Regions from separate parts of the Homo sapiens genome. Here all the other regions are linked to region 3. Evidence: promoter capture Hi-C in 16 types of primary human blood cells and fetal thymus (Javierre and others, 2016). All regions are on one chromosome and are shown on one strand. The core of a region is centred on a gene start or on the middle of the fragment in contact, and the rest is flanking DNA. Distances in the headings are between cores, read along the strand shown.

Region 1 (3,250 bases), core at 618-3,117, 260 kb after region 3:
GTAACTGATAGAAGATTCAACCTCTCAGTAGGAATGACTCTGACAATTAGACAAAACTAAGAAAACAGTTGTTTATGAGCATTGGGAGTTGACTTATGCAGGCAGTATTTGAGAGACCATGGTCTCAGAAAAAAATTAAATTCCTTCAGCTGAAAGACAAGATCACCTCCAGCCTCTAGTTTTTCATATATAATTCCTGAATTTCTGGCATTCAATTAAAAAAATTACCAAGTATGCCAGAAAAAAATGACTAAATGAGCAAAATCAAGAAGAAAAAAGAAAATAGAAACAGAGCCAAGGATGATCTATATACAGGTACTAACACTGACTTTAGAATACTTACAATTAATATGTTTGAAATAATAGATTAAAAATGTAAATTTTATTAAAGAAGTAGAATCTATTTTTAAAAAGTTCAGTAAAAATTCTAGAACCAAAAAACTCAAAAACTGAAATTAAGAATTCAATAAATAAGCTTAACAGAAGATTAGACAGGAGAGAGGAACAGCAAAATGGAAGTAGAAAATATTCACATTGGAATGCAGAGAGAAGAAAAGTTTTAAAATGGAGAAAATAGCATAAGACACACTTGGAGCATAGTGAAAAGTCTAACATACATGTAAATTGGAGTCCCAGAAAGAGAGAAGAGAGAATGGAGAAGTTATAAACAAAGAGATACTGGATGGCAATTTGAGACAATTGATGACAGACCTCCAGTCACAGATTCTAGAACATCTCTGAACCCAAGCAGAGTGAATAAAAAGAAAAACAACATGTAGGCACATCAAGGAAAGTTGTTGAAAACCAAAGATAAAAAGAAAATCATAAACGTAACAAGAAATGGATACAGCCATTATAGAAAACAGTATGGAAGTTTCTTTGAAAATTACAATAGGTCTGCCATATAAAATCTAGCAATTCCACTTCTAGGTATATATCTGAAGGTAAAAAATCAGTATCCTGGAGTTATCTGCACCTCATGTTTACTGCAACATTATTCTCAATAGCCAGGATATGGATTCAGTATGTGTCCATTAAAGGATGAATGGAGATATATATATATATATATACACACATATATATACACACACACACACACATACACACACACATCATATATAATAATATTAATATATGTTAAAGCATACATATAAAGAAATATTATTCAGCTTTAAAAAAGGAAATTCTGCCATTTGTGACAAGATGGATGAGCCTGGAGGATACTATGTTAAGTGAAATAAGGCAAACACGGAAGGAAAAGTACTGCATGATGTCACTTATATGTGGAACCTTAAAAAAAGTGAAACTCACAAAAGCAGAGAGTAGAATGGTGGTTATTAGGGGCAGGAAGGTGAGGGAAATTAGAAGATATCTGTCAAAGGGTACAAGGTTCCAGTTATGTAGAATGAATAAATTCTAAAAATTTAATGTACAGCATGGTGACTACAGTTAATAATACTGTACTGTATGCTTGAAACTTGCTAAGAGAGTAGATGTTAAGTGTTTTCACACACACACACATGCACACACACACACACACAAAGGCAACTAACTATGTGAGGCAATGAATATGTTGATTATCTTGCCTTTAGTAATCATTTTACAATGTATATCAAAACATTGTATTGTACACCTTAAATTATATATATATAATTTTATAATAAAATAATAAAATAAGTAAAAGCAACAGGGGAAAAAACAACATACACTTTTACAAAAAGAACAGGAAGCCTAAAACTCAACTGAAATAATGGAAGTGAGAAGACGATGAAGAGACATCTTGTGAAGGGAAACACTGCCGATAGAGAATTATATGCCCAGAGAAACAAAAAAGATAATGAAATTAAGTTATTTTCAGGAAAACAGAAATGAGAGAATAGGTTAACAGAAAACTTTGCCAAAAGAAAAAGACTAGGCCAGGAGCTGTGGCTAACGTCTGTAATCCCAGCAGTTTGGGAGGCCGAGGTGGGTGGGTCACTTTGAGGTCAGGAGTTGGAGACCAGCCTGACCAACATGGAGAAACCCCATCTCTAGTAAAAATACAAAACTTAGCTGGGCATGGTGGCAGGCGCCTGTAATCCCAGCTACTCAGGAGACTGAGGTGGAAGGATTGCTTGAACCCAGGAGGCAGAGGTTGCAGTGAGCTGAGATTGCACTACTGCACTCCAGGCTGGGCGACAGAGCAAGACTCTGTTTCAAAAAATAAAAATAAAAACAAAAACAAAAAACAAAAGAAAGGCTTCAAGTAAAAGGAAAGTGATAGGAAGGATGGTCCCAACAAAGGGTAATTCTACATTGTTCTTTTCCAAATCAGTCATTTTCTATATTCCATTTCTTCATTATGATTTTCATTTTTAAATTTTTATTTAATATACTTTAAGTTCTGAGATACATGTGCAGAACGTGCAGGTTTGTTACATAGGTATACACGTGCCATGGTGGTTTGCTGCACTCATCAACCCATCGCCTAGGTGTTTTTTTTTTTTTTTTTTTGAGACAGAGTCTTGCTCTATCACCAGGCTGGAGTGCAGTGGCCCGATCTCAGCTCACCGCAACCTCCACTTCCTGGGTTCAAGCAGTTCTCCCGCTTCAGCCTCCCAAGTGGCTGGGACTATAGGTGCACACAGCCATGCCCAGATAATTTTTGTATTTTTGGTACAGACGGGGTTTCACCATGTTTGCCAGGATGATCTCGATCTCCTGACCTCGTGATCTGCCCATCTCAGCCTCCCAAAGTGCTGGGATTACAGGCATGAGCCACTGCACCCTGCCCATCATCTAGGTTTTAAGCCCCACATGCATTAGGTATTTGTCCTAATGCTCTCCCTCCCCTTGCCCCCAACCCCCCGATTTCCATTTTTTGTTTACCTTTTAAACCCATTTATATATAGTCTCCTTCAGAATTTTCAGTTATCTCAATTCCCAGGGGTTATATTCCCTTTTCCTGTGTCTACTATACTACTCATGATAAATTATTTTCTTACATATTTTGTAATATTTGCCTATGCATTTATCTTATGCAGAAATTGACCCCTGTGGGGGATCCCATGCAATCTGTGTGTGGTTTCTTAGAGGTTTATTTTTCCTTGTGCTTAATGCTTTTTTATTTTTATATTTTTTTCTTTTTGGGGTGTTCTTTCTGTGTGCTATTCCTTTTGCTTTTGTTTCTGATTATTTCAAGGACATGCACTATTTAGTATCAGCAGTTTCTCACCTTGAGGTTCCTCCACTATGCATACAGTGTGAATTA
Region 2 (3,359 bases), core at 186-2,685, 290 kb after region 3:
TAAGACATGTCTAATATTACTTTACCAATAATTTTAAAGCTAGCTTATTTATTAAAGATTTTACTTGTTACATAAACTTCAGAAAGCATTCAACTAGTCTTTTCTTTTTTCCTGATAAAGTATTAGATTCAAGTGCTTTTTATCTTAAGCCAATTAATTAGAACTCTTTTATATATTTTCAGTAGCGAGAAATTGTGTACACATCACATAAATATATAGACATAGTAGGCATGCTGATAGAAGTACATCGTATAGATACTTAAGGAGCTTTTTTCCCCTATCTTAGGCTTTCAAATTCTTAATAACCTGTTTTACTCCCCTAGGGAGTTGTCAGCTAAATAGCCTTAAGTTTGCATGTTAAAGGAAACAACTCAGGCAAAAATCAAATAGCAAAATTATATCATAAGGTACAGAGAGAAAAAGTCTGGTGGTGCTAGAGGGAAGTCAAAATGGATTTAATTGCCAATTAAACATAAAATTATAAAAATTATAAAGGCCTTTTAAATAGATACACACACACACACACACACACACACAAACACACACACAGAAATCCTATAGCTTTTACTTCAGAACTTTAGCCATGAGACAAATACAAATTCACCAGGTTGCAAACAAAAAGCCTGTTGTATCCAAACAGTGGTTTTGATCTTAATAGAAAAATAACAGCAGATTTAAAGCAGGCAGAAAAGAAAATAGAGAAAAAAGAGAACTTAGGAACTCTGTAGTTTGTAGGTTGACCTTAAGGCTCTTCTTTTCTTTCTTTTTCTTTTCTTTCTTTCTTTCTTTCTTTCTTTCTTTCTTTCTTTCTTTCTTTCTTTCTTTCTTTCTTGCTTGCTTGCTTTCTTGCTTGCTTGCTTTCTTTCCTTCTTTTCTTTCTCTTCTAAAAAAAAATGAAATACACATGCAGGAGAACGTGCAGGTTTGTTACATAGGTATATGTGTGCCTTGGTGGTTTGCTGCACCTATTGACCCATCCTCTAAATTCCCTCCTCTCATTCCCCACCCCCCAACAGCCCCTGATATGTGTTGCTCTCCTCTCTGTGTCCATGTGTTCTCAAAGTTCAACTCCCATATATGAGTGAGAACATGTTGTATTTGGTATTCTGTTTCTGTGTTAGTTTGCTGAGGATGATGGTTTCCAGCTTCATCCATGTCCCTACAAAGGACATGATCTCACTCCGTTTTATGGCTGCATCGTATTCCATGGTGTATATGTACCACATTTTCTTTATCAAGTCTATAATTGATGGGCGTTTGGGTTAGTTCCATGTCTTTGCTCTTGTAAATAGTGCTGCAATAAACATACATGTGCCTGTGTCTTTATAGTAGAATGATTTGTATTCCTTTGGGTATATAACAAGTAATGGGATTGCTGGATCAAATGGTATTTCTGATTCTAGATCCTTGAGGAATCACCATACTGTCTTCCACAATGGTTGAACTAATTTACATGGGCCCTTTCTTTCTTAATGTAAATATGCACAAAGACCATATTACTTCCATTTTACTTAAACTCTGGCAAGTACAGGTGCCATAAAACCTATGGAGTGCTTGAAAGGGAATCATTCTCTTTGCTTTCTCCTCATTCTTAGATTATTTGTTTCCCAGTTTTCTTCTTAAAAAGAGGAACTGAGCTGAGGCCTAGAGGTTTTCTGTGGTGGATCAATATGTGCCATTTGTGGGCAGGACTCCACAGTGGGTCACCACTGAAAACAACAGTTCAGTTCCTCATGCAAATGCACACAGACAAGCTGAATTGAGCTTAATTTGGGGAGAAAAAGCAACAGAGAAGATCCTTTAGAATGCATTTGTGAACTAGAATTAGGATCTTTAAACGACAAATTCCTAGAAGGAAAACAAAACAACAGCCAAGACCACTTTTTGTAAACCTTGCTCAGCCACCCCTTAACTTTGTAGCTCTCATCTACCACTATACACAACAAGGTCAAAGCCAAAGAGGTCAGGTCATGCAATACAGGAAAATAGAGGTTTAGAGTTAAGAAGAATCTACCCATGACTCTTGAAACTCCACAAAGAAAACAAAACACCCCAAAAGGGGTGAGTGGCAACCTTTGTTCTGAATTCTTTAAGGGGGTTCAAGTCATTAGAAGCCTTCTCTAGACTTTTTGGTACTGCATATGGCAAAGGGGGAGGAGGTATATGGTGCAAGAAAAGTAAACGAAAGAACATTCGTGTTTTAAGACAGGAAGCAAACACAGAAACCAAGTGCATGGGTTTTTGGTTCTTTTTGTTTGTTTTCTTCTTTTGCAGCTGCAATGAATTTTAGCCAAATTAGAGAGGTTTTGTTACCCGTAATTTTGAATTCTCACTTGGATTTGACCAAGTCAGGTAGAGTTGGTCAAGTCTGATGGGAGAAAGACCAAAACAAACAACAAAATCTCCAACCATAGGATTACCAAGCACTCTAATGATAAGGAGAAATTAAGAGCAGCTAGCTGGTTGTTAAACTTTAGCCCAGACAAAGCCCCAGTTCAGCTACTTACCTAGGGATGGGTCTCAGGCTGAAGGCTGCTTTCTACCACCCTAGAAGCAGGAAAAAAACTCAAACTGGTCTTCCCTGCTGGGAGTGAGCTCAAACTCTACATGCCTTTCATCATCATGGAAGCAGGAAATCTTGCCTTCCTTGTAAAGGAAGTAAAAGTAAATCTTGCCTTCCTTATAAGGAAGGCAAGTAAGCAAGTAAAACTCCAAAAACAAAAATAGGTGGGGCAGTTGTACAGCAAAATGAACTTTAGTTCTTCACCAAATTTGGGGAGATCAGGGATTCTTTGGGGAGGGTGCTCCCAGACCTCAGCAAATTGTCCTATTGATTTGAGCCATAAAGTTAGCTCATGCTATTACCAGGCACCAACAGGATATTCGTCAAAGGTCAAGGGCATCTCCACTCAGAATCCTTTCACAGTTACCAAAATGTTAACCCAGAAAATCTGAGACAGGTCTCAGTTAATTGAGAAAGTTTATTTTGCTAAGGTTGAGGATGCTCCGGTGACACAGCCTCAGGAAGTCCTGATGACATGTGTGTAAGGTGGTCAGATAACACTTTTGTTTTATACATTTTAGGGAGACATGAGATATCAATCAACATATGTAAGATGAACACGGATTTGGTCCAGAAAAGGCAAGACAACTCGAAGCAAAGGCGGGACAACTCGAAGCTGGGAGGGGGCTTCCAGATCATAGGTATATAAGAGACAAATGGTTGCCTTCTTTTGAGTTTCTGATTAGCCTTTCCCAAGGAGGCAATCAGTGCATTTATCTCAGTGAGCAGAGGGGTGACTTTGAATAGAATGAGAGGCAAGTTTGTCCTAAGCAGTTCCGAGTTTGCCTTTTCCCTT
Region 3 (3,419 bases), core at 419-2,918:
AGAATTAAGCAAAGTATTTGAAAGTTTAACTGGAAATTTAAAAGGGGCTTTTTAAAAACATTAAAGCTGGCTGGGCGCGGTGGCTCACGCCTGTAATCCCAGCACTTTGGGAGGCTGAGGCGGGTGGATCACGAGGTCAGGAGATTGAGACCATCCTTGCTAACACGGTGAAACTCCATCTCTACTAAAAATACAAAAAATTAGCCGGGCGTGGTGGTGGGCACCTGTAGTCCTAGCTACTCAGGAGGCTGAGGCAGGAGAATGGCATGAATCTGGGAGGCGGAGCTTGCAGTGAGCCGAGATCGCTCCACTGCACTCCAGCCTGGGTGACAGAGCAAGACTCCATCTGAAAAAAAAAAAAAAATATATATATATATATATATATAAAGATTAAAGCCAACATGGATATATTATGGAATATAGGGTCAATTCATATGAAGTTTAAAGATCAACTACAAGTGATTTCAGGCCGTGGAGGCCCCTTTGGGCTATCTCCTGACTTTCCTAACATATCCATCTACTCTGTTCGGATACTATGGATAACCTTAGGAAATGTTTGACAAAGACCTCCTTATTCCTTTCTCTCTGCCCCTGAATATCTTTCCTAGATTATTTAAATGCATTTTTTTTGTTTTGTTTTGTATTTTGAGATGGAGTCTTGCTCTGTCACCAGGCTGGAGTGCAGTGGCACCATCTCGGCTTACTGCAACCTTCACCTCCCAGGTTCAAGTGATTCTCCTGCCTCAGCTTCCCGAGTAGCTGGGACTACAGGTGGGTGCCACCATGCCCAGCTAATTTTTTTGTATTTTTAGTAGAGATGGGTTTCACTATGTTGGCCAGGATGGTCTCTATCTCTAGACCTCGTGATCCGCCGGCCTCGGCCTCCCAAAGTATTGAGATTACAGGCGTGAGCCATTGTGCCCAGCCTTAAATGTGTTTTTTATGGCTCTCTCGGTTTGCACTTTTCAGCCTCTTTCAAAACGATCTCTTACCCCAGAAACTTCTTGTTCTCCAACTAGTTATCAAAGCCTCTACCTTTAAAATTCTCTCCTCTACAATTTTCTTAAGTAATATGTGGTGGTGGGGGGGAAGTATTACACGGACCCGTAAAACACAAATCGCTGTCTAATCTTTTCAGTCGTGTCCTCCATTGATTCTAATCATCCACCTTAAGGCTTCCAAGGCACAGAATGCTCCATCATTTGAAGATTCTTCTCTAAATGCAGAGGGAAAGACAGTCCACTGTGGCCTCTTAATGCAACTTCTTCCTCAAATCAATCCGTGTTTCTCCCTAGAAACGGCAGGTGGACCAGGACATGAGTATGTTTATGGGCCTGCAGAATTATGTGACACAAAAGAATGTCATCGGATGGATCAACACCTCAATTAATGAGGGCAGATACTTGGGCTGGACTGTGTAGCCTCTTTGAAGGCCTACCACAGAACTCTGATTTCATGGGTGGACTGTCTGCGGAGGAGTCCTGACTTAGCAAGAAGCCCAAGTAAAGAATTTTATGGGAGAAGGGACTCTTCAGAGGAAGGCAAATAACAGACTGAAGGAAAGGGCGTTTGAAAAGAAGTGAAGAAATAAAAAGAAAAAAGACATTACATACTGTGTCCACACCCTCTGCAGTGGGATATAAATGCTCCCTAGAGGAAGGAGACCCACAGCTCTGTGGCTTGGAGAATTTAGACTCTGTCTTCAGCCAGGCACTCCCTCCCTCCCTCCCAGCACTATGCCCTACAACTTCTGCCTGCCCAGCCTGAGCTGCCGCACCAGCTGCTCCTCCCGGCCCTGCGTGCCCCCCAGCTGCCACAGCTGCACCCTGCCCGGGGCCTGCAACATCCCCGCCAATGTGAGCAACTGCAACTGGTTCTGCGAGGGCTCCTTCAATGGTAGCGAGAAGGAGACTATGCAGTTCCTGAACGACCGCCTGGCCAGCTACCTGGAGAAAGTGCGTCAGCTGGAGCGGGACAACGCGGAGCTGGAGAACCTCATCCGGGAGCGGTCTCAGCAGCAGGAGCCCTTGCTGTGCCCCAGTTACCAGTCCTATTTTAAGACCATTGAGGAGCTCCAGCAGAAGGTGAGCGGCATTGCTGTCATCTCCAAGCAAGAGAGTTTGCTGTGATTCTGTCTGTGATAGAGAAGTGTGTTTCTTGCTTCTGTGCTGTCATAATTCTTGCTTCCTCTTTTATTTCAAAATGGCTTAAGTCATTTTTAAAAAGTTGATGATTTCATATTTATTTTCAGTCCTCACTAAGCCACCTCTCACTCCCCAGATCCTGTGTACCAAGTCTGAGAATGCCAGGCTTGTGGTGCAGATCGACAACGCCAAGCTGGCTGCGGATGATTTCAGAACCAAGTGAGTTGTTCGGAATTTGCACTAGTGTCAATTGCTTCTGTTTAATCTTTAAAGAAAAGGGATTTCCATCTGAAAACAGATCTACCCACTTGTTGTGAAGGATTCTGCAGAGGACTGGGGAGAACCAAGCAAAGAAATGCAAAAATGGATGAGGACTCACATCAATCTGTTTGTTTTGGGATGAATATTGGGTATTGATGGAGCCTCCAGAAACCTCTGTCTCCTGGGCCTATTCATTACAGAAAGTGGAAAGATAAGGCACATGAGGTTATCAAAAATCATTCCTGTGAGTCTTGAAGATCTACCAGGTAGTACTCTGACCCTGTCCTTGCGCAGGTACCAGACCGAGCTGTCCCTGCGGCAGCTGGTGGAGTCGGACATCAACGGTCTGCGCAGGATCCTGGATGAGCTGACCCTGTGCAAGTCCGACCTGGAGGCCCAGGTGGAGTCCCTGAAGGAGGAGCTGCTCTGCCTCAAGAGCAACCATGAGCAGGTGAGACTAGAAATGAGAAATGCACAAACCTGTCTCAGCCTCTGGCTCAGGGTTGCTTTAGTGATTTGGGGCAGCAGAATGCAGAGTATGAGTACAAGACTGAGGGTTTCCTTTGAAAACATCACGGTAAGAGAAAAATTGGAGAGAGATAAGACCTGTTCATGTTCCCAGACAGGAAACATCTTTCACTTTAAACTAGCACATTATTTGAGTTGCCCGGAGCAGCTCCATGTGCTTGCAGTTGATCAATAGTTGTAGAATGAGTCCTAGCATTGCAGTGTTATTGCTTTGTAAAGTCTTTTTTTTTTTTTTTTGGCAAAGGCCAAGAAAAAAAATATCAAACCTTATAAATGTGAGTCTCTACTCTTTCAAAGTATTGGTGAAGAGTGTTTGTGAGATTCTTCCTCTCTCTTGGGAGGGGCCATGACATGCTCTTACCTCTTACTTGACAGCAAGAGTTTTTTGATATATGGTCTGAAATTGCACAGCCTATTTTTTTTGGCATTCTGAGGTCCTCACAGCCAATTGTAAACTGGGAAAGTTGAATATCAATTAGTTCATCC

Evidence for each region. Contacts are between HindIII fragments. The CHiCAGO score rates a contact against its expected background, and 5 or more counts as called.
Region 1: a fragment that was not itself captured here is called in contact with the fragment with the promoter of KRT31 in region 3 in 2 of 17 cell types (total CD8 T cells and total CD4 T cells); the score reaches 5.3 in total CD8 T cells.
Region 2: a fragment that was not itself captured here is called in contact with the fragment with the promoter of KRT31 in region 3 in 1 of 17 cell types (total CD4 T cells); the score reaches 6.1 in total CD4 T cells.

Annotation. Positions count from the first base shown.
Region 1 is chr17:41,134,624-41,137,873 of GRCh38, reverse strand. No RefSeq gene overlaps it. Among named protein-coding and RNA genes, the nearest start is that of KRTAP4-6, 4.3 kb to the left of the region's middle. The HindIII fragment of the contact is 2,780 bases long and covers 478-3,250 here.
Region 2 is chr17:41,107,528-41,110,886 of GRCh38, reverse strand. LOC124904002 (a long non-coding RNA gene) reads right to left here and starts at 2,655. Exons shown (of 2, transcript XR_007065754.1): 1 at 2,508-2,655; 2 at 1-883. The HindIII fragment of the contact is 4,149 bases long and covers 1-3,359 here.
Region 3 is chr17:41,395,857-41,399,275 of GRCh38, reverse strand. KRT31 (keratin 31) reads left to right here and starts at 1,668. Exons shown (of 7, transcript NM_002277.3): 1 at 1,668-2,084; 2 at 2,281-2,363; 3 at 2,700-2,856. The coding sequence starts at 1,737. The HindIII fragment of the contact is 10,261 bases long and covers 1-3,419 here.